2 separate regions of the Homo sapiens genome follow, and region 1 is linked to region 2. The links are contacts of gene promoters, found by promoter capture Hi-C in human tissues and cell types (Jung and others, 2019). All regions are on one chromosome and are shown on one strand. Each heading gives the region's core, a stretch centred on a gene start or on the middle of the fragment in contact. The rest is flanking DNA. Distances are from core to core; before and after follow the strand shown. Region 1 overlaps CLIP1 (CAP-Gly domain containing linker protein 1). Region 2 holds the start of IL31 (interleukin 31).

What was found. The method cuts DNA at HindIII sites, captures the fragments that hold promoters and counts their contacts. A contact is called where the count stands out against the background at its distance.
Region 1: a contact is called between a fragment that was not itself captured here and the fragment with the promoter of IL31 in region 2, in 2 of the 25 tissues and cell types used here (dorsolateral prefrontal cortex and pancreas).

The regions. Positions count from the first base shown.
Region 1 is chr12:122,335,986-122,342,214 of GRCh38, reverse strand. It overlaps CLIP1 (CAP-Gly domain containing linker protein 1), which reads left to right. Exons shown (of 26, transcript NM_001247997.2): 11 at 518-1,462; 12 at 5,467-5,583. Among named protein-coding and RNA genes, the nearest start is that of CLIP1-AS1, 56 kb to the left of the region's middle. The HindIII fragment of the contact is 3,429 bases long and covers 396-3,824 here.
Region 2 is chr12:122,172,124-122,179,088 of GRCh38, reverse strand. IL31 (interleukin 31) reads left to right here and starts at 4,868. Exons shown (of 3, transcript NM_001014336.2): 1 at 4,868-4,932; 2 at 5,097-5,245; 3 at 6,348-6,965. The coding sequence starts at 4,917. The coding sequence ends at 6,677. It also overlaps a transcript of LRRC43 not described here. The HindIII fragment of the contact is 15,918 bases long and covers 1-6,965 here.

The DNA.
Region 1 (6,229 bases), core at 861-3,360, 170 kb before region 2:
TGGAGATACTAAAGTTGGACTTAAGCCATTATCACAGTTAGAAATATATATTAACCTATAAACGTTCATAATAGTTTGCTGCCTGAGATGGGGTAGTTATTAAATATCTTCAGTGTTAAAGAAAATAATCAGGCCAGGTGCAGTGGCTCATGCCTGTAATCCCAGCACTTTGGGAGGCCGGGGCGAGTGGATCACCTGAGGTCAGGAGTTTGAGACCAGCCTAACCAACATGGTGAAACCCCATCTCTACTAAAAATGCAAAAATTAGCTGGGTGTGGTGGCGCATGCCTGTAATCCTAGCTACTCAGGAGGCTGAGGCAGGAGAATCGCCTGAACCCAGGAGGTGGAGGTTGCAGTGAGCTGAGATCGCACCATTGTACTCCAGCCTGGGTAAGAAGAGCGAAACTCCATCTCAAAAAAAAAAAAAAAAAAAAAAAAAAAAAAAAAAAAAAGAAAAGAAAATAGTCAATGACTTGTTATTTAAATGATCTTTTTTTCTTTGGACTGCTGTTAATAGGTGGCTACAGTTTCAGAAAAGTCACGTATAATGGAACTGGAGAAAGACCTAGCATTGAGAGTACAGGAAGTAGCTGAGCTCCGAAGAAGGCTAGAGTCCAATAAGCCTGCTGGGGATGTGGACATGTCACTTTCCCTTTTGCAAGAGATAAGCTCTTTGCAAGAAAAGTTAGAAGTCACCCGTACTGACCACCAGAGAGAAATAACTTCTCTGAAGGAGCATTTTGGAGCCCGGGAAGAAACTCATCAGAAGGAGATAAAGGCTCTGTATACCGCCACGGAAAAGCTTTCCAAAGAGAACGAGTCATTGAAAAGCAAGCTGGAGCATGCCAACAAAGAGAACTCAGATGTGATAGCTCTATGGAAGTCCAAACTGGAGACTGCCATCGCATCCCACCAGCAGGCGATGGAAGAACTGAAGGTATCTTTCAGCAAAGGGCTTGGAACAGAGACGGCAGAATTTGCTGAACTAAAAACACAAATAGAGAAAATGAGACTAGATTACCAACACGAAATAGAAAATTTGCAGAATCAACAAGACTCTGAACGGGCTGCCCATGCTAAAGAGATGGAAGCCTTGAGGGCTAAACTGATGAAAGTTATTAAAGAAAAGGAAAACAGTCTGGAAGCCATCAGGTCGAAACTGGACAAAGCAGAAGACCAGCATCTCGTAGAAATGGAAGACACGTTAAACAAATTACAGGAAGCTGAAATAAAGGTAAAGGAGCTAGAGGTACTGCAAGCCAAATGCAATGAACAAACCAAGGTTATTGATAATTTTACATCACAGCTCAAGGCTACTGAAGAAAAGCTCTTGGATCTTGATGCACTTCGGAAAGCCAGTTCCGAAGGTAAATCGGAAATGAAGAAACTTAGACAGCAGCTTGAGGCAGCTGAGAAACAGATTAAACATTTAGAGATTGAAAAGAATGCTGAAAGTAGCAAGGTTTGTATTGACATCCTCCATTCTTTTCTTTTCCATTTGTTATTCTTGTTTTGCATTATGTTACTTTTGAGTTGAGATCATTCATCTTCCAAATTGCTGATTTAATTAAATTGCTTGATGTCCCCAGTTGAGTATAGTGTAGTATGTTCTGAGTATCTCAAGTATGGTTTCATCTGAGGAGATTAGAGAAAATAATGGCTCAACCATGTGAATTTATTTTGGTTGCCTGTTATCTGGGTACCTGATCTATTTATCTCTGGGCTATGCTGTGACTTCTAATTTAAGCTTAGCTCCAGTCTATAATCTGTTTAAAATAAAGAATGCCCTAACACTATGGTGTTAAGATGAATGAATGAACAGAAACTCAAAAGATCGGCCAGGCGCAGTGGCTCACGCCTGTAATCCCAGCACTTTGGGAGGCTGAGGCAGGTGATCACCTGAGGTCAGGAGTTCGAGATCAGCCTGGCCAACATAGTGAAACCCCATCTCTACTAAAAATACAAAATTAGCCTGGCATGGTGGCGGACACCTGTAATCCCAGCTACCCAGGAGGCTGAGGCAGGAGAATCACTTGAACAACCCGGGAGGCGGAGGTTGCAGTGACCTGAGATTATTCCACTGCACTCCAGCCTGGGAGACAGAGCAAGACTCTGTCTAAAGGAAAAAAAAAAAAAAAGCTTAAAAGATCATCTCCTCCTCTTCTAACCACATATAGTCAGGTGCCACATAATGATGTTTCAATCAACAATGGACCACATAAACAAAGGCGGTTCCATAAGATTGTAATATGGTATCTTTACCTTTTGTATGTTTAAATATGCTTTGATACACAAATACTTAGCATTGTGTTACAGTTGCCTACAACATTCAGTACAGTAACATTTTATACAGGTTTATAGTATAGGAACAATAGGCTGTGCCACGTAGCCCAGGTGTGTAGTAGACTATACCTTCTAGGTGTGTGTAAGTGCACCCTGTGATGTCCCCACAACAATGAAATGCCTAATGATGCATTTCTCATAAGATATCCTGGTTCTTAAGCAATGCATGACTGTAATTGCTTATCTATAGGGTTATGTATAAAAACAGACTGAATTCAGTGCTTCTTGACTATTATAAATTAACATGTTGGCCGGGCAAGGTGGCTCATGCCTGTAATCCCAGTGCTTTGGGAGGCTGAGGCAGGCGGATCAGTTGAGGTCAGGAGTTTGAGTCCAGCCTGGCCCCTGTCTACTAAAAATACAAAAATTAGCCAGGTGTGGTGGTGTGCGTCTGTAGTCCCAGCTACTCAGGAGGCTGAGGCACAAGAATTGCTTGAACCCGGGAGGTGGAGGTGGCAGTGAGCTGAGATCGTGCCACTGTACCCCATCCTGGGCGACAGAGCAAGACTCCATCTCCAAAAAACAAAAAAAAACCCATGCTGTGATAAATAACATTCACAGCAAAATTAAGGGTAAGAGCTTGGAGCCCTTTGCATGGCAGAAATCTCATTGGAGTTTTTTTCTGTGGCATAATGAGAACATGATCTGTCCCCTCCTTTTCTGGGGGAAATACTGAACAAGTGTGCATGTGGTCAAGGCTTAGGAAATTACGTGAAACATTCGCCAGCTGCATTCCTTACTAACTAGCCTTGTTAAATGTCATCTTTATCTTTAAAGGTGGTTCGAGGAATTGTTTCCCAGTCCTGCCACTAGTTGAGGCACTGGTATTGATGCTCAATGTTCTGAACTTTTTTGTGGGAGAAGCTGCTCTATTGGCAAAGAAGGAAGGGTTGTGATGGTTAAATGGGGTGAGGTGAGGACTGACAAACAGCAAAAAATTGCTAACTAACCATAGTCGAAGATGACAAACTGGTTACAGGAAATTTTTCTCAAATCTCCTCATGTGGTTCCGAAATACTAATCAAAACACAAAAATTAATTAGAAGATAATATTTAGCTAATGCTAGTTTACTTTTTAACATCAAGATTTCATGAAAGCCAAGTTCTAATGACTATTGTCCAGTGGATTTTTTTGTTTTGTTTTGTTCTGTTTTTTTGAGACAGTCTCACTCTGTTGCGCAGGCTGGAGTGCAGTGGCACAATCTCGAGTCACTGCAACCTCCACCTCCCAGGTTCAAGCGATTCTCCTGCCTCAGCCTCCCGAGTAGCCAGGATTACAGGCGCCCGCCATCATGCCTGGCTCATTTTTGTATTTTTAATAGAGAGAGGGTTTCACCATGTTGGCCAGGGTGGTCTCGAACTCCTGACCTCAAGTGATCCACTGACCTCGGCCTCCCAAAGTGCTGGGATTATAGGCTTCAGCCACTGCACCTTGCCTGTCCAGTGGATTTTTAAATTTTATTTAAATGTCAAACTACTTTAAGCATATACACAAATAGAGAAAATAATGTAGACCACATATATTCGCATCTTAAGGTTTTTGTTTTTATTTATTTATTTTTTAAGACAGAGTCTCGTTCTGTCACCCTCACTGCAGCCTCCGCCTCCCAGGCTCAAGGGATTCTCCTGCTTCAGCTTCCCCAGTAGCTGGGATCACAGGTGTGTGCCACCACGCCTGGCTAATTTTTGTATTTTTAGTAGAGACAGGATTTCACCACGTTGGCCGGGCTGGTCTTGAACTCCTGACCTCAGCTGAGATCTGCTGACCTCGGCCTCCCAATGTGCTGGGATAACAGGTGTGAGCCACTGTGCCTGGCCTTAAGGTTTTTTGGTTTTGGTTTTGTTTTTTTTTTTTTTGAGACAGAGTCTCGCTCTGTGGCCCAGGCTGGAGTGCAGTGGCATGATCTCGGCTCACTGTAGCCTCCACCTCCCAGGTTCAAGCGATTCTCCTGCCTCAGCCTCCTGAGTAGCTGGGACTACAGGTGCGTGCCACCACGCCTGGCTAATTTTTTATATTTTTAGTAGAGATGGGGTTTCACCATGTTGGCCAGGATGGCCTCGATCTCCTGACTTCGTGATCCGCCCACCTCTGCCTCCCAAAGTGCTGGGATTACAGGCGTGAGCCACCGTGACCAGCCAAGGTTTTTAAAGTCTAGGAAATGAAATTGCTCAAGTAGCTCATTTAGAAAGTAAGCATCCACACCTTCTGCTTTAGATCATGCTGATACTCCAAGTTACAATGAAGTATAGAAAAATAGTCTATTTTGACTATTTAAAAATAGTCTCTGGGCACAGTGGCTCATGCCTCTAATCCCAGCACTTTGAGAGTCCAAAATAAGAGGATTGCTTGGGTCTAGGAGTTTGAGACCAGCCTGGGCAGCATGGTGAGACCCCATCTCTCTTTTCTTTCTTTTTTTTTTTTTTTTGAGGCAGAGTCCCACTGTGTCACCCAGACTGGAGTGCAGTGGTCTGGTCTCGGCTCACCCAACCTCCGCCTCCCAGGCTCAAGCGATTCTTCTGCCTCAGCCTCCCAAGTAGCGGGATTACAGGAGCGTGCCACCATGCCCAGTTAATTTTTGTATTTTTAGTAGAGATAGGGTTTCACCATATTGGCCAGGCTGGTGTTGAACTCCTGACCTCAAATGATCCACTTGCCTCAGCCTCCCAAAGTGTTGGGATTACAGGCATTAGCCACCGAGCCCAGCCAGAGACCCCATCTGTAAAAAAATTTTTTAAACATTAGCTGTAGTGGCACGTGCCTGTAATCTCCGCTGCTTAGGAGGCTGGTGCTGGAAGATCACTTGAACTCAGGAGTTCTAAGGCTGCAGTGAGCCATGATCACACCACTGCACTCTAGCCTGGGTGACAGGGGAGACCCTGTGTCAGAAAGAAAGAGAAAAAAAAAAAAACACAAAAATAGCCATTAGGAAATCATATCATAGAACTGATTGTTTGAAAAGTCATTGACTTCTTAGAATTAAAAACCAACACCAAATTTGTATTCCTTTCAGTTTTGTTTTATGTTTCTCATAAGTTTTTTACATTTGTTTATTTTTTTCTTCTCATTCTCTTTTGTTTTCCTTTTGTTCATTTGCTTCTATACCATGTAACACTGTGTGTTAGGCTAGTAGCATTACCAGAGAGCTCCAGGGGAGAGAGCTAAAGCTTACTAACCTTCAGGAAAATTTGAGTGAAGTCAGTCAAGTGAAAGAGACTTTGGAAAAAGAACTTCAGATTTTGGTAAGTACCTGTTGGGAATCTGAATCTCAGGGTTTCTGGCCATTTCCTGTTTTAAAAAATCCTCCAGTAAGAAATATTGTAGCTGTTTCCTTTCTCTTTCTAAGTGTTGATTCAACTTGAGTGTATTAGTTATTGGCTGATAAATATTGTCCTTTGAGGGGAATCGGATCAAACCCAAACAACAAAGGTAGGTATTACTTTTTTTTTTTTTTTTTTTTAATCTATCCCTTCGCCTTTGGTAACGCACTGCTTTGAAATGTTATTGACTACTTAGTTTTACTAAACACAGAGCCCTTCCAAGTTATACATCGAACACAGTTAGGTTTCATATTGAATGAGGCCCCTTCATATTGAATGAGGCCCCTAAACTGTGATTATCAGGGCAGTAGCTGTACTGGGCCGTAGGCGCCCTCTGTTGGCGAGGCAGGATGCTTGCTGTCTAATTAAATAAATTAAAATAAATCTAACTCAGTTTATTCCATCTCAGAAAATTACCTTCCCTTTTATATGTTTTCTCTTTCCTTAATCTCAAGTTGTATGGCATATGTATATTTTTTACCTTTTCTCAACTCTGTTCCTTCCTACTTGCCTCCTGCACTGAAAACCCGAGTTTAAACAAGGCTGATACTCATGAGTAGTGCCAGTG
Region 2 (6,965 bases), core at 3,619-6,118:
ACCAGCCAACCAACAAGCAAAGAGCCAGAATTCATCACCTCACCCGAGCCCCAAAGGCCTGAGGCCTGTGATCCTCTTCGTTTGTACCAATATCATTTATCCAGTTGCTCAAACCAGAAACCCAGAGGTTGTCCTCAACTCTTCCCTCTCCACCATCCCCATATCCAATCAAACACCACCCTGGCCAGGCACCATGGCTCACGCCTATAATCCCAGCACCTTGGGAGGCCGAGGCAGGTGGATCACAAGGTCAGGAGTTCAAGACCAGCCTGGCCAACATGAAAAAACCCCATCTCTACTAAAAATACAAGAAAAACAAACAAACAAAAAAACGCCAAGAGTGGTGGCTCACGCCTGTAATCCCGGCTACTCAAGAGGCTGAGGCAGGACAATCGCTTGAACCCGGGAGGCAGAGGTTGTGGTGAGCCGAGATCATGCCACTGCACTCCAGGCCAGGTGACAGAGCAAGACAATGTCTCAAAAAAAAAAAAAAAAAAAAAAAAAAAGAAAGCCACCTCTTACGTATTTTTCCTCCTAAACATTTCTACAACCCATCCACACCTCTTCATCTCCACTATCACTATTACCCTCTTCTCACCCTCACCTTTGGGCATGTTGATTTTGAGGTATCACTGGGACATTCAGGTGGACATTTAGGTCTGGAGTGTGAAGGAGACAGACAGTAAAGTGTGAGGAATCCAGATCACGGGTGGACACCGTGGAGCTAGGGAGAGGGGCAAAAGGGATCAGGATGACGTTGTTACAGGAGAGGTTGTTACGAGAGGTTGTCAAGAAGGTGGAAGTGGTTGGCAATGTTTCATGCTATAGAGGGGTCATGTAAAATGAAGGCTGAAACCCCAGTAAGGCTGACATGTGGTCTCTGGGTACTGTATTAGTTCTCTATTGCTGCCATAACAAATATCACAAACAGCAGTTTAAAACCACAAATGCAGCCAGGCGTGGTGGCTCCCACTTGTAATCCTAGCACCTTGGGAGGCCAAGGTGGGTGGATCACTTGAGGTCAGGAGTTCAAGACCAGCCTGGACAACATGGCAAAACCCTGTCTCTACAAAAAATACAAAAATTAACCAGGCATGGTGGCACGTACCTGTAATCCCAGTTACTTGGGAGGCTGAGACAGGAGAATCTCTTGAACCCAGGAGGCAGAGGTTGCAGTGAGCCAAGATCATGCCACTGCACTCCATCCTGGGCAACAGAGCCACACTCCATCTCAAAATAATAAATAAATAAATAAATAAATAAATAAATAAATAAAACCACAAAGGTGGCCAGGCGCAGTGGCTCACGCCTGTGATCCCAGCACTTTGGGAAGGTGAGGCAGGACTGCTTGAGCCCAGGAGTTCAACACCAACCTGGGCAACATGGTGAGATCCCATCGCTACAAAAAATAGAAAAATTAGCCAGGCATGGTGGTGCAGGCCTACAGTCCCAACTACTTGGGAGGCTGGGGTAAGAGGGCTGCTTGAGTCTGGGAGGTCAAGGCTGCAGTGAGCCGTGATCACACCACTTCACTCCAGCCTGGGTGAGAGAGCAAGATCCTTTCTATTAAACACACACACACACACACACACACACACACACACACACACACTTTCTCTCTCATAGAGTTTGTAGGTCAAAGTCTAGCATGCCATGGATAGATTCTTTGCTCAGGAACTCACTGAGCTGAAATAAAGGTGCTGGCTGGCTAGGGTTCTCATCTAGGTCTCAGCATCCTCTTCCAAGCTCAGTGGTTATTGACCAAATTATTTCCTTCTCGTGCTTTCCACGCTGCCCCCCACCATCTTCAAGCCAGCAACAGCAGGTGAGCCCTTCTCTTGCTCGTAATCTCTCTGACTTCCTCTTCTGCTTTATGGGCTCATGGGATTGCATTGGGGAGGCCCAGGGAATGCAGGAAAATCTCTCTATTTTAGGTAAACTGAATAGTAATCATGACTACATCCACAAAACCCCTTTTGCCATGCAATGCAACATAATTATGGCAGTAAACACCTGTGGATGAAGGTCATGCCTACCATGGACTCTGCTAGAGGATATTGATTACATTAGTGGGGTGGTGAAAGCCATATTGTGGCAGTTTGGGAAGTAAAGAAAAAGTCAGTGGTGGCTGGCGGCAGGGGGACTTGGGATGATGGGTGGGAGGGCTTCCTGGCTGTGTCCCCTCTGTGCACCTTGAGTTCTGTGGGCTGCCCAGACTGACCTCATCCCAACATGGTGAAACTCCATCTCTACTAAAAATACAAGAATTAGCCAGGCATGGTGGTACATGCCTGTGATCCCAGCTACTCAGGAGGCTGAGGCACGAGAATTGCTTGAACAGGGGAGGTGGAGGTTGCAGTGAGCTGAGATTGCGCCACTTCACTCCTGCCTGTGCGACAAAGTGAGACTCTGTCTTAAGAAAAAAAAAAATGCTACTACTACTAATAAATAAAGTTCATCAGGGCTAGGCATGGTGACTCATGCCTGTAATCCCAGAACTTTGGGAAGCCAAGGTGGGAGGATCGCTTGAGATCTTCTCTCCAAAAAAAAAAACAAAACAAAAGACAAAACAATTAAGAAAAGAAAAAAATAAAGTGCATCTGATCTTATGTTTCCCTACTGAAAGCCGCCCAGCACTGCCTCGTCACATGTGGAATAAAACCCAGGCTCTTTGTCCCAGCCTCAGGCCTCTGTGATGGAGCCGCTGCCCACCTCCCCACTACCCTCCTGTCCTCTCGCGTCACTGTGGCTGCCATGACCCTCTTCCCGTTCTAGGAACAGCATCGAGCTCATTTTCACCTGAGGATTTTGCACTCCTGTCCCGTTGCCTTGGAACACTCTTCTCCCAGGTCTTCCCACAACTGGCTCCTTCTTGTCTTTCAGTCTCTTCTTCAATGTCACCTCTCAGAGAGACTTTTGCTGATCACCTGACTTAAAGTATCCTGCCCGTCACTCTCCAACCGTCACAGTGCTTTCTAGCTTATTTATGAATGTTGTTGCTATTGTCCGCAGCCCACAGCAATGACGGGCCCACAAGGGCAGGAACTCTAACTTCTTCACCGCTATTCCCGATACCCTATAAAATGGCCTGATCAAAGCTGGCACTAAAATATGAATAAGGAGGCCGGGTGCAGTCGCTCATGCCTATAATCCCAGCAGTTTGGGAATCTGAGGCGGGCAGATCACCTGAGGTCAGGAGATAGAGGCCAGCCTGGCCAACATGGTGAAACCCCGTCTCTACTAAAAATACAAAAATTAGCCCGGCGTGGTGGTGGGTGCCTGTAATCCCAGCTTCTCGGGAGGCTAAGGCAGGAGAATCGCTTGAACCCAGGAGGCGGAGGTTGCAGTGAGCCGAGATCGTGCTATTGCACTCCAGCCTGGGCAACAAGAGCGAAACTCTGTCTCAAAAAAGAAAAAAAAAAATTAGCATAGTGATTTGTGCCTGTGGTCCCAGCTATTTGGGAGGCTGAGGTAGGAGGATCACTTGAGCCCAGGGGATCGGGGCTGCCGTGAGTTGTGATGATGCCACTGCACTCTGGCCTGGGTGACAGAATGAGACCCTGTCTCAAAAAAAAAAAAAAAGAAAGAAAAAGAAAGCTAATGAACTTAGAAATAGTTTCTAAGGCCAGAGTGGTGGCTCGCACCTGTAATCCCAGCACTTTGAGAGGCGGAGGCAGGTGGATCACAAGGTCAGGCGTTTGAGACCAGCCTGGCCAACATAGTGAACCCCGTCTCTACTAAAAATACAAAAATTAGCTGTGCGTGGTGGTGGGCGCCTGTAATCCCAGCCACTCAGGAGGCTGAGGCAAGAGAATTGCTTGAACCTGGGAAGTGGAGGTTGCAGTGAGCCGAGATTGCGCTACTGCACTCCAGCCCAGGCGACAGAGCAAGACTCTGTCTCAAAAAAAAAGAAAGAAAGAAAGAAAGAAAGAAAAGCAATAAAGTTTCTAGGCTGGCGCAGTGGCTCATGCCTGTAATTCCAGCACTTTGGGAAGCCGAGGCAGGCAGATCACCTGAGGTCAGGAGTTAGAGACCAGCTTGACCAACATGGCGAAACCCCATTTCTACTAAAAATACAAAAATTAGCTGGGCATGGTGGCACGTGCCTGTAGTCCCAGCTACTTGGGAGGCTGAGACTGAGGCATGAGAATTGCTTGAGCCCAGGAGACAGAGGTTGCAGTGATCACGCCACCGCACTCCAGCCTGGGTGACAGAGCAAGACTCCATCTCAAAAAAAAAAAAAAGAAAAAAGATATGAACAAGGATTTCAAGCAATAACTCTGGATCACAGTCTCTGGTTCTGGGCCCTGAGATTGCAGAGGCACGATGGAGAGTCCAGTGATGTCCAAGGCCACATGGAGTTGAGATGAAGCCTTCGACCCGCCACATTCACAGCAGTTATGGGGCCGTCCCTGCACACCGGCGTGGGCATATGCTGCAGAAATTTCCAGAGATACCGCATTCTGCACATCTCATGCCGGCTTCGCATTTCCTCCCCAGAAATTCCCTGTGGCCGCTGGCCTTGAACTCCTGGAAGTCACCCGCTCCTTGGTGGTATGGTCGTGTCTGTCAACCCTGGGCTTCAAAATTTTGTCTAGTCAAATCAACAGGCTCCTTCCAAGAAGAATGGCAAAGATGCATTCATGTGCCTTCTTGTGAAGTATGTGTGTGTCTGAGTCAGGCATCTGCCCACCTGGAGGGTAACCTCAGCATTTCCATTCAGCCCTTTCACTCAGCCGTGGCCAGTAGAACTTTTGAGTGTTTTCTGGAGAAAAGCTGAGTAAATGGTTTTGCCATGGGCGGGACGCTGACTGCTCTTTCTCCTCACCCTGGCCCTTTATATACCTCCAGGCAGCCATGGCGAACACATCTGGCTCCAGAAGCCCCCACTGAAGCTGGCCTTGCTCTCTCTCGCCATGGCCTCTCACTCAGGTATCACTGGTCCTGGTGCTTCCGGAGTCTTGGGCATCATCTTATCTCACCAGGAAGATTCTGGAAGCACTACCCCCAGGGTTGGCTCAGCAGGGCTGCAGGGATGGAGCCAGGGTGGGCAGGGGTGTGTGATGTATGCGCTCACGGCATCGTTCTCTCTCCAGGCCCCTCGACGTCTGTGCTCTTTCTGTTCTGCTGCCTGGGAGGCTGGCTGGCCTCCCACACGTTGCCCGTCCGTTTACTACGACCAAGTGATGATGTACAGAAAATAGTCGAGGAATTACAGTCCCTCTCGAAGATGCTTTTGAAAGATGTGAGTGTCCTAGAGATTTCTTTTCTAAACGATTTCTTAAAAATGCCTTCCATTGCCCTCCAAAGAGGCTCCTCTCTCCGGACCTGAAACCAGGGCTGTAGCTATGCCAGGAAGGGATGGGGGAAACTAGACAGGCAAAGATGGCTTTTTTTTTTTTTTTGAGACAGAGTCTTACTCTGTCACCCAGGCTGGAGTGCAGTGGTGCAATCTTGGCTCACTGCAACCTCTGCTTCCTGGGTTCAAGCGATTCTCCTGCCTCAGCCTCCCGAGTAGCTGGGACTACAGGCATGCGCCACCACGCCCAGCTAATTTTCATATTTTTAGTAGAGACAGAGTTTCTCCACGTTGGCCAGGCTGGTCTTGAACTCCTGACCTCAAGTGATCCGCCTGCCTTGGCCTCCCAAAGTGCTGGGATTACAGGCGTGAGCCACTGTGCCCAGCCAAGATAGCTTTGATCAAACAAACAAATGCCCAAACTTGGAAACAATTCATAAAATTGGCATTACTCTTCTCATCTGCCTTGGTATTTAGACCTTAGCCTTGGCTTTTATAAAAGGCAGAGGTTGTTACCAACCCAAGATGACTGGGCAGTTCAGGTTGATGAGGTGCTGCTGGCAATTTGGTCTGACTCTAGTTAGTACTTAGAAAGAGGAAGGGAGGGAGTGGTCCGGACTCCTTGGTTTGTTGGGGAAAACTCTCGCCTGCATCTCGGAGGCCTTTCCGGACAAGCCTAACACTCTCCTTTATAAGTGGAGCGTGCGTGGCTTTAACACAGAGTCCCAAAGGGCGGGGAGCTGCCATGGAAGGCCAGATGTGCTGCAATTCCCACCACCCTGAGCACGTGAGAGTGGGTTCTGGAAGGCTGGGAGGCCTCAGCTGGATGGATCAGTGGTTCTGAGCACAGGCTTCAGGACTGCAGCCACCTAAGCTCTAGTTTCATCTGGAAATGGGGTTGGTGATGGCACAGCCTCATAGGGTTGTGACATTGATCAGATAAATATATCAACGAGGCGGGTTACGGAGGAAGCATGCAAACATTCACTGTTAAGACTTGCAGCTGTCATTGCAAACCCAACACTGACCATTTCTCCTCATTCCACAGGTGGAGGAAGAGAAGGGCGTGCTCGTGTCCCAGAATTACACGCTGCCGTGTCTCAGCCCTGACGCCCAGCCGCCAAACAACATCCACAGCCCAGCCATCCGGGCATATCTCAAGACAATCAGACAGCTAGACAACAAATCTGTTATTGATGAGATCATAGAGCACCTCGACAAACTCATATTTCAAGATGCACCAGAAACAAACATTTCTGTGCCAACAGACACCCATGAATGTAAACGCTTCATCCTGACTATTTCTCAACAGTTTTCAGAGTGCATGGACCTCGCACTAAAATCATTGACCTCTGGAGCCCAACAGGCCACCACTTAAGGCCATCTCTTCCTTTCGGATTGGCAGGAACTTAAGGAGCCTTAAAAAGATGACCGACAGCTAAGTGTGGGAACTCTGCCGTGATTCCTTAAGTACATTTTTCCAATGAATAATCTCAGGGACCCCTCATATGGGCTAGTCCCGGGAGGGCTGAGATGTGAATTTGTGAATTACCTTGAAAAACATTAGGTTATTGTTATTAGTCTTGGTATTTATGGAATGCTTTTCTTCTGCAGGCTTAAGTCTTACTTATTATACCCTCGTGAGGGTGGGAGGTGGCAGCTATGT